2 separate regions of the Homo sapiens genome follow, and region 1 is linked to region 2. The links are contacts of gene promoters, found by promoter capture Hi-C in blood cells and fetal thymus (Javierre and others, 2016). All regions are on one chromosome and are shown on one strand. The core of a region is centred on a gene start or on the middle of the fragment in contact, and the rest is flanking DNA. Distances in the headings are between cores, read along the strand shown.

What was found. Contacts are between HindIII fragments. The CHiCAGO score rates a contact against its expected background, and 5 or more counts as called.
Region 1: a fragment that was not itself captured here is called in contact with the fragment with the promoter of PHOSPHO2 in region 2 in 2 of 17 cell types (total B cells and total CD8 T cells); the score reaches 6.5 in total B cells.

What each region holds. Positions count from the first base shown.
Region 1 is chr2:169,565,685-169,570,020 of GRCh38, reverse strand. FASTKD1 (FAST kinase domains 1) reads left to right here. Exons shown (of 15, transcript NM_024622.6): 3 at 769-837. Among named protein-coding and RNA genes, the nearest start is that of FASTKD1, 6.0 kb to the left of the region's middle. The HindIII fragment of the contact is 934 bases long and covers 940-1,873 here.
Region 2 is chr2:169,692,264-169,696,884 of GRCh38, reverse strand. It overlaps PHOSPHO2 (phosphatase, orphan 2), which reads right to left and starts at 2,416. Exons shown (of 4, transcript NM_001008489.4): 1 at 2,263-2,416; 2 at 1,638-1,670. CFAP210 (cilia and flagella associated protein 210) reads left to right here and starts at 2,480. Exons shown (of 9, transcript NM_001085447.2): 1 at 2,480-2,624. The coding sequence starts at 2,558. PHOSPHO2-KLHL23 (PHOSPHO2-KLHL23 readthrough) reads right to left here and starts at 2,416. Exons shown (of 5, transcript NR_144936.2): 1 at 2,263-2,416; 2 at 1,638-1,670. RefSeq lists a silencer at 2,108-2,387 and an enhancer at 2,518-2,697. The HindIII fragment of the contact is 4,078 bases long and covers 1-3,631 here.

The DNA of each region.
Region 1 (4,336 bases), core at 157-2,656, 130 kb after region 2:
AAAGGATGATTCCATGTTTTTTGGTGGCCTTTCTCAGGTTACAAAGTTGTTTTCTCTGAGGTACTTGAAGGGGATGCTTAAAGTTTTGTGAATAAGGTGATTGGTGACTATTAGCTTTTTAATTTTTTTACAAACATTTTCTTATAAAAATATTTTATTTATTTATTTATGAGGTGGAGTCTCACTCTGTCACCGAGGCTGGAGTGCAGTGGTGCAGTCTCGGCTCTCTGCAACCTCTACCTCCAGGGTTCAAGCAATTTTCCTGCCGTAGCCTCCTGAGTAGCTGGGATTAAAGGCACATGCCACCACGCCCAGCTAATTTTTGTATTTTTAGTAGAGACGGGGTTTCACCATGTTGCCCAGGCTGGTCTCGAACTCCTGACCTTAAGTGATCCGCCCGCCTCAGCCTGCTAAAGTGCTGGGATTACAGGTGTGAGCCACCATGCCTGATCAAAAGTATTTAAATCAGAACAAAGACATATTATATGTACTTTTAACATAAATATATTGTTGAACATTATCATTGGTCAGTAGCATGGGTATTGAAATAAGCAGATAAAAGGGTGAGAGGGCATGGGATAAAGTATAGATGTTTATTAGGCTGTACCAAAAAATCAGAATATTGAAATAAGAGTGGACCAGAAATAAGGACTGCCTGTATAAGAGGAAAATAACTTGAGTTTCACTTTTGCATTATCATTCGTATTGCATATGTTTTTAATGATTTTAAAATGATTATGTATGGAGGATTCTTTCTTTTTTATTAAGGTTTGCTGGTGAGGCCCATGACCCGCTAGTTGAAGCACTAGTTACAGAAGCATGGAGAAGGCTAGAAAGGCAAGTACCCTGGGTTCATCTTGAAGATCAGGGTTATTCTTTTCAGGGTTAACAGAGTGAAATCTTGAAGGGAAAGAACAGGGAACTGATGCCTGTCAAGCTTCACTGAAAAAAATGTATTTAAACTCAGTTTAGTTTTAAAGTTTTTGATTGTGTAATGTGTTGTTGTTTTTTTTTTTTTTTTTGAGATGGAGTCTCACTCTGTCGCCCAGGCTGGAGTGCAGTGGCGTGGTCTCAGCTCACTGCAACCTCTGCCTCCTGGGTTCAAGCAATTCTCTGCCTCAGCCTCCTAAGTAGCTGGGATTATAGGCACCCACCATGACTCAGGGCTAATTGTTTGTATTTTTAGTAGAGATGGGGTTTCACCATCTTGGCCAGGCTGGTCTTGAACTCCTGACCTCGTGATCCACCTGCCTCAGCCTCCCAGAGTACTGGGATTATAGGCGTGAGCCACCGCTCCCAGCCATGTCTTTTCTTTTTTCTTTTCTTTTCTTTCTTTCTTTTTCTTCTCTCTTTTTCTGTCTCTCTTTTTTTTTTTTTTTTTTTTTTTTTTTTAATGGACAGGGTCTTGACATGTTGCCCAGGCTGGTTTTGAACTCTTGGGCTCAAGCAATACTTCCTCCTTGGCCTCACAAAGTGCTGGGTTTATATGCATGAGCCACCATGCCTGGCTGTGTATTCTTTAAGAGAGAAAAGAAAGTATTTCATATTTTTCCTCTTTAAGAGTGGGGAATAGTATACTTTTCCACACATGTAATTAGTTGAAATATAAATAAGATAGAGTCACAGCTATTCATGAACTAGCCTTTTTGAATCTTCTTTTCTAGAAGAATACTTCAGAAAGGAAAGATTCTTGATTAATTGGCTATCAATAAAAACCTAGAAGTGCAGGAGCCAGGAAAGGAGAAAAAAAGAGACCCTAGTTTATTAGAGAGGAAGGCCATTTAACACTGTTTAGGAGCATCTGTAGCTACTTGTCTGTTACTCCATTTTTAAGGAGAGGCAATGACCAGAGCTTATAGGTGACTTAGAAGCTTTTTAAAGAAAGTGAGTTTCAGGTCCACTGCTGTGGACAGTATTAATTCAGATATATTTCCTATATTGTACACAGCTCTATTTTCAGCATGTTGCCTTACTTGATAATCATTCAGAAAAATGGGAAATCTTGTGAGTACAGAGAAATTTATTCTCTAATTATATATCAGAAGCTCTTTATTTATAAAAGGGCTGAGATAATAGCAGACTCATTTTGGGAAATCTTCATCTATTTCTGAAAACTTTGAATTTTTTAATCTAGGAACTCTGGATGATTGTAGTCTATTGTTAGTGGAATAAGGCAAATGTTAGGGAGGAAAGAAAAAAATCAGGGTGAGGAAGAGATAGGAGGATATTAAAAACTACAGAGCAACTCTCCCTCTAAATCAAATGGAAACCAGACAGGAAAGTCTTGACTAAGATGAAGGAGAAACAACAGGCTATTTATTTGTAGACAGAGAGGAGCGACCATTCTGATTTTTAAAATATTTTTAACATATTGCCTCTTAAAGCTTAAACTATAATAAATACTTATATATTGGTAAACTCTGTAGGCCTTTATTACATGGGCTGGATTAAATTAAGGGACAGAACAGTTCTCCAGATTTAGAAATTCTGTATTAATCTACTAAGTTGTGATTTTAAGTTAATCTTATTAGCTAAACCCATCTGTCTTCTTTTATACTCTCTACCTATAAGTATATTGAGGGTAAGCAGAGTAATCTTATTCCTTTTGCTAACAGTACAAATTATCTATTTACTGGATCTTTGGGGTTAGATTTGTTGATAATAGGTCACAACATTTTATTTCTCTTCAAAGCAAGGATACGTTATGTGTATTATGCAGCTTGAACAAATCACTTGTAAAATAGGTGGTCTTTTGTGTTTTATAATTACTGTATTAATTAAATTACATGTATGATTGTATTTTATAGTGAATCAAGCATTTCTTTTAAATTTTTCTTTATTTCAAAATAACTCAGAAGTACAATGATCTTGCTAAAATATCTATAAACTTATGTTTTTTTTTTTTTGAGACAGAGTCTCGCTCTGTTGCCCAGGCGGGAGCGTAGTGGTGTGATCTCAGCTCACTGCAAGCTCCGCCTCCTGGGTTCAAGTGATTGTCCTGCCTCAACCTCCCAAGTAGCTGGGACTACAGGCACCTGCCACCACACCTAGCTAATTTTTGTATTTTTAGTAGAGACAGGGTTTCACCATATTGGCCAGGCTGGTCTCAAACTCCTGACCTCGTGATCTGCCCACCTTGGCCTCCCAAAGTGCTGGGATTACAGGTGTGAGCCACTGTGCCCAGCCTGTTTTATAAATATAATTTGTAATGATTTAAATGGGGTAGATTATTCTGGATTAGTACTATATGATGAATCATGGCAAGGATAATTAACATGTATTTGAAATCCATATATATTTTTTTCTTTTGGGATAGGGTTTGGCTCTGTTACCCAGGGTGGAGTACAGTGGTACAACCAGGGCTCACTGCAGCCTCAGACTTCCAGGCTCAAGCCATCGTCCTATCTCAGCCTCCCAAGTTTCTGGGACCACAGGTGGATGCCACCACGCCCAGCTAATTTTTATATTTTTAGTAGAGATGGGATTTCGCCATGTTGCCAGGTTGGTCTTGAACTCCTGGGCTCAAGGAATCCTCCTACCTTGGCCTCCCAAGAAATCCAAATTTTTTTTAAAAAACTTTCTATTATAGAATATTTTTAACATTTACAAAAGGAGAAAGAGTAGTACAACGAATTCCCATGTACCCATCCTCCAGCTTCAACAATTGTCAACACATAGCCAGTCTTGTTTTATCTATATCCCCTCCCACTCTCAGTATACTTCAGTATATTTTAAATAATATCATTTCATCTTTAAATACCTCAGTATGTTTCTCTAAGGACTTTTTAAAAATATAGAACCAGCTGGGCGTGGTGGCACACGCTTGTAGTTTCAGCTACTCAGAAGGCTGAGGTGGCACAGCAAAGGATACAATCAACAAAGTGAAGCGAGAGTACACAGAAGGGTAGAAAATATTGGCAAACTACCCATCTGACAAGGGATTAATAACCAGAATATATAAGGAGCTCAAACAACTCTAATTAGGAAAAAGTCTAATAATCCAATCAAAAAATGGGCAAAAGATTTGAGTAGAGATTTCTCAAAAGACCCGTGCAAATGGCAAACAGGCATATGAAAAGGTGCAACATCAGAAAAATGCAAATCAAAACTACAATGAGACATCATCTCACCACAGTTAAAATGGCTTATATCCAAAAGACATGCCATAACAAATGCTGGCAAGGATGTGGAGAAAAGGGAACCCTGCACACTGTTTTTGGGAATGTAAATTAGTATAAGCTCTATGGAGAACAGTTTGGAGGTTCCCCCAAAAACTAAAAATTGAGCTAGCATGTGATCCAGTAATCCCACTGCCTGGGTATATACCCAAAAGACA
Region 2 (4,621 bases), core at 1,167-3,666:
GTTTTTGTCCAGTGGATAAAATCAGTGTTAAGCTGATTGAGATTTTCAGAGTCCATTTTTTCTTTGTACTTGTTTAATAATAGAGGAGTTCCACATTCTGTTGTCAATAGACATTTAGTGCTGTACTAGAAATTAAAATGTCTCCAAAAATTAAGAATATGAACAAAGATTTAGTTTTAAGAATGTGAATCTGTTTTGAAACCAATTTGTTAAAATTCCAAAAAGTTAACTGTTCTCTTCAAAAGCACAATCTATGTCTATTTGGTATGTCTGCAATGTTTCCATAGTGTAACAATATCCTGCATACTTTACACAATAATGAAAATTAAAAACTACACAGACATCCAAGAATTGGGAAATAATTAAGTAAGATATGCATGTGATAGCAAATAACAGAATATCCAGCCAGTAAAAGCCAAGATATTCAGTTCAAATTAAATAAGCAAGTCACAAAATAGTGTGTACAGTATAATCCTGTTTTTGTTTTAGAAAATGTTTACATGTGCAGTGGGATGGTTATGGTTGGTTCAACCGTAGTTCACACTTTTTCTACATCAATTTTGTAATAAAATTTTTTTCTTCTCAGAATAATTTAAACTCTGTTTCAGATCAGAGTGCATATGCTACCTTATTAAATTCACAACAAAGAAATAAAAGAGTGGTGGGTATAGGACAAATAACTCTAGATTGACTTGGTTGTGACAATCCACAGGTTGGAGCTGGAATCTCGAGTCTGAAGTCAAATTATATCTGACCACCATGTCAAATTGGCAAGTAACTGACATCAAATCATGAGATTCAATACTTTTGTAACCAATTTTGTTAAAATTCCAGAAAATTGTTGTTGGGAGACAATTTTCCCTGCGTCTCTGGTGGTTCTGCATGTCTTACTGACTGCCCTTTCCTCTAGACTATTGTCTCAAGGATGTTTGTACACTGGACAGCCTTGAGAAACATGCTTATTTGTCCAAATGATAAAGATCTGGGTTCCCTAAGCTCAGGGCTCCTTTCCTGTAATTCGACACACACTACATCTAGGTGACTTCTTGCCCACTTTGCATTATCCTGTGGGAACTGGGGCTTTAGGGAACTCAGGCGAAATTGCTGATTTACTGGCTACTGCTGGGAGTAATTCATTCCTGAAATGAATAGTCTTGTGTCTTCCATGAAACTGCCAGGCTAAGTTAGCCTGCAAACAGGGTAAAAATCTCTGTTCCTTCCCAGTTCTTGAAACTTTTTTTTTTTTTGAGACGGAGTCTCGCTCTGTCGCCCAGGCTGGAGTGCAGTGGCACGATGGTCGGCTCACTGCAAGCTCCGCCTCCCAGGTTCACGCCATTCTCCTGCCTCAGCCTCCAGAGTACCTGGAACTACAGGCGCCCGCCACCACGCCTGGCTAATTTTTTTGTATTTTTGCTAGAGACAGGGTTTCACCGTGTTAGCCAGGATGGTCTCGATCTCCTGACCTCGTGATCCGCCCGCCTCGGCCTCCCAAAGTGCTGGGATTACAGGCGTGAGCCACCGCGCCTGGCCCCCAGTTCTTGACACTTTTTAAGGTATAGTTCCAAAAACCTACCAGCGCTGTATGTGCACAAACTAATTTCTGTCTTCAAATATTTTCTTAATTATTCCATACTTACCAGCATTATTACGTGGAACATCTGATAGAAAACCTAAAGAAAAATAGCACGACTATGTGTTAGAACATTCGTTATTAAAAATCTTTTTGTTCTTTCATTTTGAGAGACTCCAATTTGGTGCATTATGTGTACACGTCAGAGCCAACTTGTTAGTAATGAAGTTATCTGTACATCAATGTGTTAGAAAAGCATCTTTTGAAACCAAACGCGCAGCTACTCCTAACAGATTTCTGTGGTCATGTATTTACCAAGAAATTTAAAATATCTCAAAGGTCCTAACGTAAATATTCTAAGCATATCATTACGTTTTAACATTCCTATTTTTAAAAAACTTGGCCCCATCTAGTCCTGACCATGCCTCAGAAACCAAAGGATTAAAAAAACAGCGTTTATGTCAGCGAATCCGCGGGTTTTTATAGTTAAGGGAGGGCTTTGCTCCTCACACTCCACCCGCGAGGAGATCTGCGGACGCACACACCACGCCTAGGCCTCGCGCGCTCACACACCTGCCGGCTCCACCCCGAGGGTAGGCATCGGACCCAATCGGGGGTCGTCCCCCATGGGGAGCGCGCAGGTGGGGATGGGAGTAGCAGGCAGGGCGGGGGCCCACGGGCTTCTCACTGACCCAGTCCCGCCGTCGGCAGCCGCCCCGGCGCCCGTGACGCTCCTGCGGGTTCAGTCCTTTGGCCTCGCCCCACGCCTGCCCTCTCGGCAGCCCCACTCACAAGCCCAGCTCGCAAGCGCAGGCGCCTCTCTTCTCTAGCCCGACCGCCAACTGCAGCACCTCCCTTGTTCCTCGGCTACGGCTGGCGTCACTTCCGGCGGCGTTGCCAAGCAACCGCGTGGTACGAGTAACAACTCCACCGGCTGGCGTCCGCGGCGCTTGGCGCCACAGTCACTTTTCCAGATCTAGGAGCATCATGGACACCTCGTCAGAGATGCTGGTACGGTTTGGACGGCGCTGTGGACGGGCGAAGGAAAGTACAGGTGAGCTAAACTGACCTATCCAGGGACAGGGATTGTTTCTGGACCCCCGGCATGGAGTGAGAGGCGAGGATGCCGAATGAGGGCTTCAGTTGCCTTTTGAAATGGACTCCACCAGGTCGAAAGCATCCTCAATAAGCATCTTTGGGCTCTGTGTGAAGTTAGGCCGTCTTGCCCTCAGGTGAATGGGTGAAGGAGGGAAACGGGGAGTGGAAGTGGGTGGGAGAATGTTTACAGAAATAGGGGTGGAGAAAAGATAGGAAATCAGAGACCCCCACCCCCAGCCCCAGCTGACCTAAAACTGCGCAGTTGCAGCTCTGAGAGTCTGGGTTTTGTTAAATTTCCCGCACGCTTAAAGTTTGTTATTCACTGATTGAATTGGAATATCTCTTGGAAATATAAGTCACCTCTTTAGAGGCTTGGCTCTTCTGCAAACCTGCTGATTGGTCTTTACTAAAAGTCTCTGAAGGAAATATCTCCATTTCCTCCTCTCTAAAGTAAATATAAGGTCTCTCTCTAAGTCAAATGCTTTTAGAGAGTTAAAAAAAAATCGTGTGACATAAAGTACTGTAATTCAGGTGACCTGTTATAACAATTTGATTTTGGAATAGAAATAGACTTCTAAAGAACTCTATCAATTCTAGCTACAACAGTTTCTTACGTCTGTAAATTAGCAATTAATGTTGTCATGGTGACAACTAGAACTTTGGCAATTTGAAGTATCTTCATGTCATTGCCCGAGCTTCTGTAGCAATAGTGCCCCCTGCACCAGATGCAGAGTGACAGCCAGTCATTCTTCACTAGTGGATATTTATGCAGTGGAGGTTTTATGAGGTTAGCAGCGGACTTTTGCCATGTAAAAGGAAAGAAACAGTACCAACATGGCCAGTTTTGGAAAAGCACAATTAGTCCCACACATTCACTTTCCTGCATATGCATTTCTGCACTACCTGGTTTAGATTTACCTAATAGTTGTTAAATAATGTTTTGTGGCAACTAGCTCAAAAGCTTCCACCTGAGCCTCACTGCTAAATTTTAATCTCCATTTTTAGGGGAAGGCTAAGTTGGAGAGAGGTTCAGAGATGTGTGCAGCTATTAGTAAAATAAATAATTTATAAAGATTTAGTGGGATGACATCAGCCAGAATGGTGAAATAGGATCTATGCCTGAAATCCTCTCCTCCATAAAATCAACAAGAACAGTGGCAAAAATCATCAATATCGACTTTTTCAGAACTCTGGAAATTAACCAAAGGCTTGCAACAATTTGTAGAGTGTTTACTAAAGAAAAACAGCTGGATTTTTGTAACAACAGCAAGGTTTTTGGCATTTTAACTTGCCATAGTCCTATACTTTTCTCCCAGCCCCGTGTCAGCCTAGATAACCACAGTAATCACAGTGAAAAATAGTGACTTAGCAACTGGTAGAGGGGACAAAACAGAATTTGACCCACTCCAAAGCCAGACAACTGTTATTATTCGACATGTTTGATAGTTCCTTGGAAAATCTCACTCATGAGGCTTATTGTTATTTAGTCTGACTTCAAACTCACCAAGTATGTTTGTCAAATGTTCAGTGGCAATTTTAAATATCACAGCTATCAGAGGCATGTGTGGGAACTTAATCCCCAATGTAAAAATGTTGGAAGGTAGGGACTAATGAGAGGTGATAGGCCATGAGGGCAGAGTAAAGGGATTAATGCCATTATCTGGGGAATGGGTTCATTATAAAAGTGGGAAAGTTGGCCCTCTTCTTTCTCTCTCTCTCTCTCTGTCTCTGTGTGGTGTGTGTGTGTGTGTGTGTGTGTGTGTGTGTGTGTGCGTGCGCCTGTTGCCCTCTCTTTGCCCTTTTGCCATGTAATGCCTTCCATCATGTTATGATGCGGCAAGAAGGCCCCTGCCAGATGCTGGCACCTCGATACTAGCTTTCTCAGCCTCCAGAACCATAAGCCAATAAATTTCTATTCCTTATGAATTACCGAGTCTCAGGTATTCTGTTATA